Linked DNA regions of Homo sapiens: regions 2 and 3 are each linked to region 1. Evidence: promoter capture Hi-C in 16 types of primary human blood cells and fetal thymus (Javierre and others, 2016). All regions are on one chromosome and are shown on one strand. The core of a region is centred on a gene start or on the middle of the fragment in contact, and the rest is flanking DNA. Distances in the headings are between cores, read along the strand shown.

Region 1 (4,040 bases), core at 1,541-4,040:
AGGAACGGAACTACTCTGGCAACCTAAAATCTTTCAAATTGTTTAAAATAAAATATTATTCCATTCAACAGAAATATTTTTTAAAAGGAGGAAGCTCTCGACGGGAGGATCGCTTGAGTCCAGGAGGCGTAGGTTGCAGTGAGCCCACATCGCACCACTATACTCCAGCCTGCATGACCGAGTGAAACTGTCTCAAAAAAAAAAAAAAAAAAGAGGAAGCTCTCCATCATACTGATATGAAAAGATTGCCAAGATAAGTGAAAAAAGGAAATAAGGTATAGACAGTACATATACTATGCTACGGTTTGTTTAAAAGGAAGAGGTGAGTAAGAATGTATTCTAATAGGCCTAGCATGGTGGCTCTGTAATCCTAGCACTTTGGGAGGCCAAGGCAGGAGAACTGCTTGAGTCCAGGAGTTTGAGACCAGCCTGGCAAAATAACAAAAATCCATGTCTATAAAAAATTTAAAAATTCGTTGGGAGTAGTGGCGCATGCCTGTAGTCCCAGCTACTCAGGAGGCTGAGGCGGAAGGATTGCTTTAGCCCAGGAGTTCAAGGCTGCAGTGAGCCGTGATTGCCACTGCATTCCAGTCTGGGCGACAGTGAGACCCTATCTCAAAAAAGAAAAAAAGGAAAAAAGAATGCATTCTATTTTCATTGTAAATGTAAATAATGAGAAGATAAACAAGAAGTCATAAATAATGATCAGGGCCAGGAACATGGTAAGAAGGAGACTTTTACTTTTTATTTTATGTGTATTTTGAACCATGTGAACCTATTACCTGAATTTTAAAAATGTAAACAAAAAAGGACTAATGTCGCTAATGGTCCATATGATGAAATATTATGCAGCCATTAAAAAACATGCTTTCAAAGAATAATTAATGCCCTAGGAAAATAAAAATCAGAAAACAAACCTATGCCAATAATACATAATAATAACAACTCTGTAGTTTAATCTTCATAGCAATCTTATGAAGTCCACAGCATCAGTATCCCAATTTTAAAAATAAAGTCTACAGAGTTCCTAAGTTGGCTGGATCAAACCCAAGAAGTTGACTCCACAGTGATCCCAAATTTTAAATGCACAAAAACCAAAGGAAAATAAGGTAAAATGTTAAACACTGGTTCTCTGGGTGGTAGAATTATGGATGGTTTTATTTTTCTCCTTTATCTTATTCTGAATTTTAATTTTTTTCTACCGTGTACACATATTACATTTACAATATGCCAAAAACAGTAAATTTTTGTTAAAGTAAAACCAGGGAAATAATAAAATGCCAAAATCTTCCATTATTGTGGATGGTAAGCTGTCACAGACACAAAAATCTAAAGGGTTATGTTCAAGATCAATTAAGAGCAGAGGCAGGCCCAGAAGCCAGAACCAGTCTATTATATCACACTTTCTTATCTATGCCATCCTCTTCTGGTGGAGGAATGATTCTGAAAGATCTGCAGAGCACAATTGTGGAAGTTGACACTACATCAGATGAGCCATTTCTGGTTCAAATTTCTTGTCATGTCACTCCAAGACAGTAACATGCATATCACATGCGCCTCAACCAACTAAACAAAAAATGATGCCTGAATAGAGAGTGGTCAGCAGACTCCCCAAAATTTCTTTAGTTTAGAGAGAGAGAAAGTGAAAGGGAGAAGTAGAAAATGGGTGGAAAAACGTAATAATTACAAAAATACTCTTAAGTTTTTGGGGTTACAGATCCCTTTGAAAAATGGATGACAACTATGGACTCTCTGCTCAGAAAAACATACATGCAAAAATTTTACAAATAACTTGAGACTCCAAAGTCTTTCTGTGAATCCTAAGTTAGCAACCATGGATTCTGAGTCAGACTTCTATTCAATAAAAGAAGTAACTTCAGTCAGATCTGCTTCTGGGATCTGATAGTTCTTTGTGCCTGGAAGAGTTCAAGCAAAAATTAGGTGAGAAATTGGCAGATGTGTTATAAAGGAGATTAAAATACTGAAAGGGGCTGGTTTTCTAACCTTAAGATTCCATGATTCCAATGTGAGCAAAAAAATACGGGCTCAATCAACTCTCTGGTTGAACACTCACTGAACGCTCTGTGGTGCCAAACTCTACATTCAGTGCTGTGGTGAGATACCAAAGTCAGAGAAGACATGGAACCCGCCTCTAAAGAACACTGAAATTGTGGGAATATGTAAAGTGTGCTTAAATCTACAAAGCAGGAGCTTTACAGGTTACAGAGCTCTTTTACTTTCCTTATCCAAGTCAAGCTTCATGACAACAAATTAAAAGGGGAAAGAAGCACTTAACACAGTGCTAATAATAATAAAATATATTCATTGAATGCTTACTACATTCCAGATACTTTCAATCAAGCAGCAAATAATATTTGAGCACCCACTTGGTGTCAGGCACTGCAGTAAGCACAGTGAATACACAGCAGAATCTGTGCCCACATACATCAACTAATTTATTTAATCAATCCTATGAACTGTTATTTTTGTCTCTAATTTATAGTTGAAGAAATTCAGGCTCAGAGAGGTTAAGTTACTAACCGAAGGTCATACAGTCAAGAGGCAGACAGGAGATTTCACCCAGGACCACTGGAACTCAAATCTGTGCTCTTCTCCACTGCATCCTGGTGCCAAGCCCACAACTCCAAAACTACAGCTTTCCTGGATCATTTCACAATGTCAGCTTCTCATCATGCAGATATCTCAAGTCCCCAAGCACTCTAGACGTCACTGATGACAGCAGGAAGAACAAGGCCTTCTACTTACTTTAGCCTTCACTTAATTCTAAAGTCAAATTTATGAGTCAGTGGGACAGGTATTATAATCCCCAAGTCTACAAAACTGAGGGAGAAGAAGGCTATCTTAGCCACTGTGAGAAACGGAAATAATCACAGAGCAAGAAGAAACACCAAGCAACTGATCTTTATCCAGCACAGCAAAGTGCATCTGCTCTTGAGCAAATCCAGGGCCCACCACTACTGTAAATGGAAACTGGTATGCCTTGCCAAAACAGAAAGTGGCCACAAAAATAAATGTTATTTAAGTGAAATAATCAGACGCAATGCAAGATCAGCGCTGAGCCTGAGTCCTGATCTCTGTTTAAGAGACATGAGCAATTGTTAGAGAAGAGTGAAGGTGTGTTAGAGAGGAGTTGGGGCAGTATGTCAGAACAAACGAGCACTACGTTTATTGAGAATAATCAGAAGAAATGAAAGAGCCTGTAAAGGAGACTACCTGCTTGGCTACGTGATTACATACATGTTATCTGATAAAGTGTCCACCCAAAATCATGTCCGGTGTCACTGTTTAGTGCTTGACACAAAGTAAGCTTTCAGTAAAGAACAGCTGTCGATGTCATTGTTTGGAATAACTGTTTTTCTCCATGTTATTGTTGGGATTGGATCGCAGAATAGCTGGTGCCATAAGACTGCCAACCTCAGCTCACCAGGCTTGTCCTTGTCACTTATCAGAGGAGTAAACTGAGACCCAGAGCCACGCGGTCGGCTAGTGGCAGGGCAGAGCCGGATACCCGGGCCCAGTGCGACGCTCGCGCCTCATCCTTTCTCCTTAAGGCGAGGACATCCTCCTCAAAGGGAGGGACCTCCCCCCGCAGACACCCGGGAGCTCCCAAACTCCCCGAAGCACTCACCTTCATGACTGCCAGGCCCGGAGGCCACCGAGACTCGGCCAGGGAGTCCATGGTCGCTCCCGAGGATGCTGGGGGTCAGCCACCCACTAGCCTCCGGCGCTCCAACACCACTCGAAATTCCCCGCGCTACCGCATTACGTCAGCAGCCCGCGACGCGCCAGAGGCGGGCGCGGAGCCTGCCGGAAGTTGTAGTAGTATGTGGGCGGGGCGCCGCTTAAGGGCTTGTACTGCGCATGCGCCAGGCTTCTGCCGCACTTACCTTGAAGAAAGTGAATGGTTAAAAAGCGTAGAGCCAGTTGAATATTAAGAAAAGATAGCCAGGAATCAAACCAAATCCAGACCTCACCAGATCTGTCAAGGTCCAGGCTCATGACCCCCCTCCGGGTCGCCC
Region 2 (4,107 bases), core at 792-3,291, 4.2 Mb before region 1:
TTCACTGACACTTAACCCCGAAGACATTTGCATTGGAAACTTCGCATTATCTGTTTGAAAGTCCTCTCAGTTCAAGCCACACATTCTAAGACTCAGCAAAAGCTTATTGACACCAAGGGCATTGAATTCACCAGCACCTGTAACGTTTCTTGAAGAATGCTTGCTAGGGAAAAGTTCCCATGGTAACTGTTTTTAAAAGAGTTTTGTAGCATCAACAGGTTAGACAGGAAGTCAAAATCATGGAGCTCAGCAGCATCCCCTATAAGCACGTGCTCCTTTTTAACCACCCCTAACAAAGACACTGAAGCACCCTGTTCATAAGCCCTGATGGGCACTGGAGGGTCTGGCCAGGTTGGGCTGGATTTCAGGGGACCTGATTTGTGTTTCCCTGTGCAGTGCTCGTTTCCATCACCATCTTTAAGGAGGAGGCCTTTTCCATCCACTGGACTCTTACCATCGTGCCTGTTAAGGAACAAAAAGACAACTGCTTAGGCCTGGAGGGTATGTGGAAACCACCAGTTACCTTTGAATATACCTGTGGTGCTCGAACCTCCTTTAGAAAACCCAAGATGCCATTTTAATGATGCTTTGCTCTTGGGTATCAAATTTACTCCTTAATTTACCTCAGGAGATGTTCTAAGAGGAAGCCACAAGATTCCATACCTGCTGTTGTTGTTTTAGAGCTGGTGGATTTTTTTTTTTTTAATCCGCGGAGGAGGACTTGACCCTGTGGGTTCCTAACTTGGATGGCCATGCAGAGCACCCTTAACTTGGAAATCTATATCCTGCTGTTTAAACTTCAAGATGATTCCTATCTGGATTAAAGTCCTCAACCAGCAGGCCGAGGCAAACTCTAAAGAAAAACAAGGTCATGCTGCATTTTTTTTTGGTAAGCACAGGAATCAACAAAGAGATGTTATATAACTTCTATTTATATCCTCCTTGCTCACTATCTGCAGGCAGACAAGAGTCGCTGAGAAGGGATTTAATGAGCTCTCTGGGTTTGCTCACCTTCCTGAGCTGGTAGGAACCAGCTTGTTCTCAAATGCGTCAGTAAAGAATCTGGCTGTGGGTGGGCGGCCAGGGTAGGTGGACTGCGTTGTTGCTATGGTGTTTTTTAATTCCCCTGTCTCTCAAAGATCTCACTCCCCCCTTCCCTGACTCCTTCCTTTTGCCCCCTTCCTTTCTTTCTTTCTTTTTTTTTTTAAATCTGTAAGCTTCCTTGTTTCTCACACCTACTCATGATTCTTGGAGCTGTCTCCGGAAACAGAATATTTTCCCTCTCCTTCCTAAGTGCTCAGCTCCCCCATTGTGTAGCCCCGGGACATCAGAAGTTGTTTTCTAAGGTGTGTTTTTTCCACCCTCCCTTATTTCTTTTCCCATGATTTTTTTATTACCAATCCCTCCATGAGAGAGACCTATCCTAGGAGTCTTCCATCTTGCCTGATAGAAGTTTTCTCTGGCATATTCCAAATTCAGATTGCTCCAAAACCAGGTGAAGTCTGTTGCTAGTTGGACAGTCGGTATGGCCTGGAGGAGAAGGGCTGTTTGTATTTCCATGCATCCTCCTTTGTCCTCTTGCCCTGGGTGAAGCAATGACGTCTCTGTCTCCTCTAGTGCGTTATAAAATAGAACCGCAAGAAAACAAGAGAATGGGTTTACCCCACAATCATAATTCCTGGAGCTTGGGTAACTCCTGTTACCTGAAGGTTGCAGGTTGAAATGACTCAGCTTGCATTTAATTAAAAAAAAAAATGCTGCCCCATCAGATTCTCAGCAGGGACGACGAATGCACCTTGCTGAGAACCCTATGGCTGCCCAGGGAGTGGCCCCCTGCACCCTGGCCGGCCTGGTGGTGGCCACAGAGGCTTCTGAGATGGCTCTGTGTTGTCCATCACATTCCCACCAGAGCAGAGACACTTAGAAGATGTGAGTAGGGAGGTTAGGATGAAAAGTTCTTAGAAAAGAATATGTAGTTCCATGAGGACAGGCTGAAAAAATTTTTAAAAAGCCAAACCCACCTCTGCCTTGCCCAGAAGTTGTGCAATCCTTAATAGCAGTAGCCTGTTTGAATAATCAGAGGCAAGCTGACTTCCCTTTATTAACTTCTGTTAGAGACATCTGCATAAAATATCCCCGGATTCCAGACCAAGTAGGTAATTTTTTTTTCCCCTCTGAGTAACGGGAGGGACTTTCCCTTTGGAAATCTTCCAGCAGAGTTAACTTCATGGTTGAGACTGTTTTCTCATTATAAGGTGCCAACAGCTAGATTCCTGATGCAGGGACAGTGAAGGCGCCTCATGTACACACTTGGATCCCCTGCTTCCCTGAGAACTGACTTGATGTTCACAGTTGCCTCTGGTTCTTCTGCCTTGACCCTCCTTTTCACGGAGAAATCTATGCCCGCTCACATTTCCTGAGGTCCTCTGAGTTCCTCTTTGAAACTGTCAGAGGCTCTCTCAAAGTTTCTACCAATTTCCTATTCCTGGGTTTTAGACTTTTGATCAAGATGGCTCTGACACTGAAGGGGATAGTCCTGTAAACCCTCTGAAGTCTTCAAGCCTCGTTTTTCCCCTGGAATTCAGGACTTTAAAAATATATATATTTTATTGCTCTTCGAGGAGGATGTGTTGCAGTTGCCCTCACCATATGGTATTTGAGAAATATGTTTTTATTAGCCTCCTTGCAACACAAACCCACAAACTGTTGAGCCCAGAGCTTGTAGCTATCAAGTCTGGGGAGGGAGCCAGGTTTGGAGACGGAAGGTGCACAAATGATCATCCCTCCCGGGCTGTAGTTAATCATGCAAGCTGCTGTGTCACTGGGGCCGGGGTAGTTAACAGTTAACTCGATGGATTAAGGATCCTCAGCCAGGCTGAGCCCATCACAGAGTTACGTGCAAAAACCGGATAAGCCCGTAGAGGTGACAACACCACATCAGCTGCCTTTGGCTGGTCTGCGGTGTGCTGCATATTCCCACTTAGCAGGACTTTGAGCTTTCACATGCAGGCTTCTTCTGGCCATAAAGTTATACTTCAGCTGCCATGGATGCAAAGCTTGGCTTGAGTGTTTCGGAATTGCACCTCCTTCAGGATTATTGTTCATTCATTAATATAGTAAATTTTTTAAAAAGAGAGAAGAGGCCTTACTGTGTTGACCAAGCTGGCCTTGAACTCCTGGGCTGAAGAGATCTTTCTGTCTCAGCCTCCGGAGTAGCTAGAACTACTGGCTTGTGTCACCACAGCCGGCTTAATATAGCAGATGTTTACTTACTGAGCACTCCCTGGGTGTCAGGTGCTATACACATTGGCGTCAATACAGTCAGGGATGAGACCAACATAGCCCCTGCCCTCCAGGAGCTTACAGTCTTGTGGGAGACAGAGCTAGGAAATCAGCTCATCATCAGCTAAATCAGAGCTTCAGAGAAGTGTGATGGGGAAGCAAACAGGCGCCACGAAGCGTGGCCAGGGAGGGCTTCTCTGGGGAGATACCGTTCAAGCTGAGACCCAACAGATGCGAAGAGAAGGAGCTGTGTGAAGAGTAGCAGAGGGCAAGAGTATTTCAGAAGAGGGTTGGCTTGTGCTTGGGATGTTGGAGGAGCTGAGTGAAGGAAGCTAACGCGGTCTACCCCATGGTGGTCGGTCAGGGGCAGAGCTGCGGAAAGTATCTGCTCCACCAGGGTGATGGGCTTGTCATCAAGTCGGGGCTGGATGAGGTGATCTCTGTGGTTCCCGCCGATCCCTAGTCGGTGCTTCTAAAGGGCACCAAGTTGGCTTGGGCCTGTCCCCTGCTTGGATATGCGCTGCCGCCGCCAAAGCCCTAATATACAAAGCAGCTTTACCCAGATGAGTGCTGTGTGATTTCACCCTGCCCTGCTCTAACCGCTTGGCCATCTGTACATCTTACTGTCAGCTGCCAGGGATGCTCTCTGTGGCCGTGTGGAAGTTACCTGGTGGGCCAGCACACAGCAAGATGGGGATGCAGGGTGGGGAGACATGAAGAGTCCCAGAGCATTCTGCTGGGGACCAGACTCGGCTGTACCCGAGAGTCAGTTGAGTTGGGAAGGACTAGGGTTGACTGGGGGTGACTGCAGTCTTCATCAAGGAG
Region 3 (4,249 bases), core at 91-2,590, 4.5 Mb before region 1:
CCACTTAACTCGAGGGGTCATTTGGGAAGTTACCTGATTTCTCTGAGCCCTGGATTGTGCACCTGCCAAATAGATATAATAAATATACCTACAGTTGGTAAAACTCAATAGCATGACGCATGAAAACTGCATGTGGTCTGGGCTCAATAAAATCAGCCTCCCCATTGATTATTATCATTATTATTACTATTGTTATAACAGATCTTTAGGCGGCGTCAGGAAGTGCCTGTCTGGGATGCTATAATGCGTTTGGCTCACCACTATGCCCCAGCGCCTGGCACCTAGTAAACACTCAGGAAACGTTTGAGGAATGAATATACGTCATTTGAGGCAAGACAGGGCAGTCGGCTGACTGCCTCCGGGCTTAGCTCTTCCCCTCCTTGCAAAAGCCGGAGCCCTAAGCAGCGTGTAGCCCGGGAGCCCAGGCATTACTTGGCAGCGGGTGAAACCCACCTTGCCCCATTCGGAGCTCTTGGAGAGCGCCCCGCCTGGATGCGCATCTCTGTGTGAGCGGCTCTTTCCTAAGCCCTTATTTTTCTGGTTTGCGGTTTATTTACTTAAGCATTTACAGCTCCCAGGAGCAGAGGGGCTGCTAGAGGTACGGTCAGGACTGAGGTCGCGGTTTGTATTTATTTTCTGCCTCCCAATCTCAGAGCCGGCAAGTCACAACACGGCTCCTTTATTTGTGCACCGGAGAGGTCTGCCTTTCTTTACCTCCTCACGGGCGATAAAAGACAAGCAACTCGGGCTCAGAAAAGTGCTCTCACGCGACTTGCCTGTGTCTCCGCTTGCGTGGACCGTCGCTCCCAGGCTTGGTTTCTCGTGCAAACCCGAGCAGGGCGGAGCAGATTAAATAAAGACACCTCGCGCCTTTAATCCTTGACCGCAAACACTGGCGTTTTTGTGCCCCGGATTTCTGAAATTCTTGGCTCGGGGAACCAAGGCAGGGGGAGGGTGGGCTTGTAAAAACTTCCCAAAGCAGAAATCCGAGCTCCTAGCCCCTCCCCGGCCCCAGTGACACCTGGATTCCAGGGAAGGGGGGCAGCCGGAGGAGAGGCGTCCCCAAGGGTTGCGGGCGCTTCCCAGGGGTGACTTTGAACGGCTGGCTCCAAGCCCTACCGACCCCAGCCAAGGAACAGGCTCAGCAGCCTGAAAGCCTCGCAGGACGCCCCTCCCCTGTCCCCGCACGCGTCTATTTAGGGCCCAGCCCGGGCGCCCAGGGGATTCTGGGACTTGTAGTCCCTCCCCGCAGCCTCAGGCGCCGCCACGACCCGCTACTTGGACTACATTGCCCAGGGAGCTTCCCGGCCTATATAAGCCACCCGGAGCCGCTTTAAAGTGCAGTAACCATGTGGATGTGCTGCTGAAGCGTTTCCTCAAGCTCGCTGGGGTGGGAGGAGAGGAGGAGGAGGAGGTGGTGGTGGAGGAGGAGGCAGGGGGTGGAGAGAGAGAAAGCGCACGCCGAGAGGAGGTGTGGGTGTTCCGCTTCCATCCTAACGGAACGAGCTCCCTCTTCGCGGACATGGGATTACCCAGCGGCTGCTAACCCCTCTCCTCGCCCTGCTCCCCCAAACCGGCGTGGCTCCCCGGGCACCAAGGTAGCGGCTGGGGCCGGGCAGAGGGCGCGGGGAGTTGGCACTGGCTCCCCGGGCGCAGAAGTTTTTGCCCCGCTCTCGGGGAGATCTTGATGGATGTGCATGCACTTGGCATGCATTTGGGGGTTCCTTTACTGCGGGCAGTTGTTTTGGGGGGAGCTCATTTGAAGCTTAAAAAACAAATATCCTCTACTCTAGTGCGTGGCTTTGGGGGCTCCCCATTCTGGTCTGATGTGGCATTCCCCCAAGTTGGAAACTGTTGCTGCAGCTGCAGGAAATAGTTCTTTTTTTTTTTTTTTTTTTGAAGAGAGGTTGTGGGGGTGTCATATGTGAGTCTGCTCAAGGAAATAATCTTTCTAAAAATGTATCCCTCTCTTGCGCTCCGTGGTTGGGAGAATAATGCATGTGTAGGGGCCCCCCGTGGGGAGGGTTTTTAAAAACGGAAGAAAACCGGAGAAGCGGTGAGGGATGAAGTGTGGACGAAGCTCATGTCCAATGAGGATGCGGGCTTCGGATACTTGGCCTTCTCGCCGGGAAACAAGTGCTTTGGGATCTGCCAAACACTTCCCTTAGTTCCAGCCTCCCGCACGTTCGAAGTTTGTGCGTGCCTAGTCTCAATTGTCAGTTACATCCTGGAAATAAGTAAGCGTAGTTACCTGGAATCTTCGCCCAAGCGATCCCACCAACCTGCCTACCAAGTTTGGGGGCGGGGGGGCTGTCCCCAGTGAAGGAGGCTAAAGAAGGTGGAAACTTGTAATTTGGAGCATTTCTGTTAGAGCTCATCTTCCGCGGTCTGGTACTCAGTCTTCTTTCTTTCTAAATATTTAGGAGCTGACTACAGAGGAGCAGGATTTGCACCCCTCGCTGGGCTTGCTTTGGCAACAGAGTGCCTGACCCAGGTCAGGTGAGTGTGGAAGCCTGAGTGCTGTAGTCAATAATGAGTTTTTGTCCTAAGCCTATTTTAAGTTCTATCTAAACCGCCAAGGAGGTGGGGAGTAAGAAAGAAAAAGAAACTCCGTGGCTCAGTCTTCAAAATTTGCCTCTGCCTTTGGTGAGGGCTTTTGGGAGCAGAGGTCCAGTGGACAGTCCGTTTCTTGGAAGTAGCTGAGAATTGAAGGAGCCTGAAAGTTTATGAGAGAGGAGGGGAAAAGGCCATTAAATGGAGCAATAAAACGGCGGCCCATTGCCGGTCTGAAAAGCATGCTGATGATTTAAATTCTGAAGGATACAGTGCATTTCATATGCCAAAATGTGTAAGCAGTATTAACTGCCTCTCTCCTTCAAGAAATAGTCACTCTTTTCTAATTTTGAACGTGTGCTTAATCAGAGTAGGTTGGATTGCAAGAAATGAAAGTGGTTGCTGCAAGTTGAAAGAATTAGAACTTTAAAAAGGGAAGTGAGTTATTGAAGCTTAAGGTGGTAGCATCCAGCCCTTGACTCAAGCCACCTGAGTGTCAAGGAATCTGGCAGGTCCCTGTTGTTTTGGGGCCCGTGGTGGAATATGAGCTGAGAGCAGCATTTATCTGTAAACACAACAGTTCCTATTTTTTCCCCAAAATGGTCAGACTGCATTTGAAGAGTGGGAGGTTTCAACGGGTGCACGTACATCACTATTGCTGCAGATTTGGCTATCAGGAGTTTTTTCTCCTGAAATGTTCAGGAACATGGTAAATAACAGGGTAACAGAGGTAGGTGGGGGTGGGTGGCTGGGTCTTAATAACTTTTTTAACATTCTAAATATTTAGCTGTTCCCTGGGCTACAATCTTTGGGCTTTTCTAATGAGAAAATAAAAGTCAGACACTTCATTATAGTGGTATAGTGCTTTTGTTTCCTGTTGATAAGATCCTCAGGAGTACTGGCGGAGTGAGAAGCATTTGGATGTGAGAACTCTAGTTTCTTCTTGGAGTTCTGTTGACTCACATGGCTGTGTGGGTGCTCATAGAGCCAAGGATTAGGCCCAGTTCCCCTTTTCAGAATTAGCTGTACAGCAAGGAAAAACTGGTCCACAGACTCTTTTCTAACTGGTTGCTAAAAATAATAAGATGGACACATTAAGTACTTGTAAGCCAGGTCCAGAGCCATGTATCTCAGAAACCCTGTGCGTCAGATGCAGGTGAAGAAACTGAGGTGCAGAGAGTGAAATCACTTGCCCAGTAGCTAGTACAAAGTAGGAGCAGGGTGTAACCTCAGGCGGTGAGGCTGTACTGCATCCCACAAATGGACCTCAGTTGATTTGGGGATGCTGGTGGTGAGAGGGAAGCTAGGAAAAATGGTAAACTTACTGCTACTGATGAAATAACTTGCATACCTCCCACCAATGATGAAATAATACATAACATTGATGTAAGAAGGAAAGGATGTAGCCACAAACATAGGGATAAAAGAGTGCAGATATTTGAGGAGGTATTAGATACTGTAATGAGTTCATTTTGGAAAGCCTGAATGGGGAGAGTAAAAAGAAACAAAACCACAAGGAACATTATGTAAGTTAAGCATTAGGCTCACCTCCTAGCTGAAATACATCTTGATTGTTTACATCAAAGAATCTGAGTAGGTTAAAAGGATCAGGCGTTTCCCCATCTGAATAATTCGAAAGTTTAAACTGCAGTTAGACTGCAATGTGAAATGTTGATACCTTTTCATATACCTTCCA

What was found. Contacts are between HindIII fragments. The CHiCAGO score rates a contact against its expected background, and 5 or more counts as called.
Region 2: a contact is called between the fragment with the promoter of EGOT here and a fragment that was not itself captured in region 1, in 1 of 17 cell types (M0 macrophages). The highest score is 5.1, in M0 macrophages.
Region 3: a contact is called between the fragment with the promoter of ITPR1 here and a fragment that was not itself captured in region 1, in 1 of 17 cell types (fetal thymus). The highest score is 5.9, in fetal thymus.

Annotation. Positions count from the first base shown.
Region 1 is chr3:8,959,686-8,963,725 of GRCh38, forward strand. It overlaps RAD18 (RAD18 E3 ubiquitin protein ligase), which reads right to left and starts at 3,787. Exons shown (of 13, transcript NM_020165.4): 1 at 3,650-3,787. The coding sequence starts at 3,700. RefSeq lists an enhancer at 3,635-3,804. The HindIII fragment of the contact is 1,072 bases long and covers 2,255-3,326 here.
Region 2 is chr3:4,749,549-4,753,655 of GRCh38, forward strand. EGOT (eosinophil granule ontogeny transcript) reads right to left here and starts at 2,042. Exons shown (of 2, transcript NR_004428.1): 1 at 1,398-2,042; 2 at 1-462. The region is part of intron 44 of ITPR1 (inositol 1,4,5-trisphosphate receptor type 1); the gene reads left to right. RefSeq lists an enhancer at 95-164. The HindIII fragment of the contact is 1,839 bases long and covers 1,216-3,054 here.
Region 3 is chr3:4,492,008-4,496,256 of GRCh38, forward strand. It overlaps ITPR1 (inositol 1,4,5-trisphosphate receptor type 1), which reads left to right and starts at 1,341. Exons shown (of 62, transcript NM_001378452.1): 1 at 1,341-1,598; 2 at 2,424-2,499. It overlaps ITPR1-DT (ITPR1 divergent transcript), which reads right to left and starts at 1,156. Exons shown (of 2, transcript NR_108075.1): 1 at 777-1,156. RefSeq lists silencers at 1,410-1,679, 2,978-3,272. The HindIII fragment of the contact is 5,640 bases long and covers 1-1,763 here.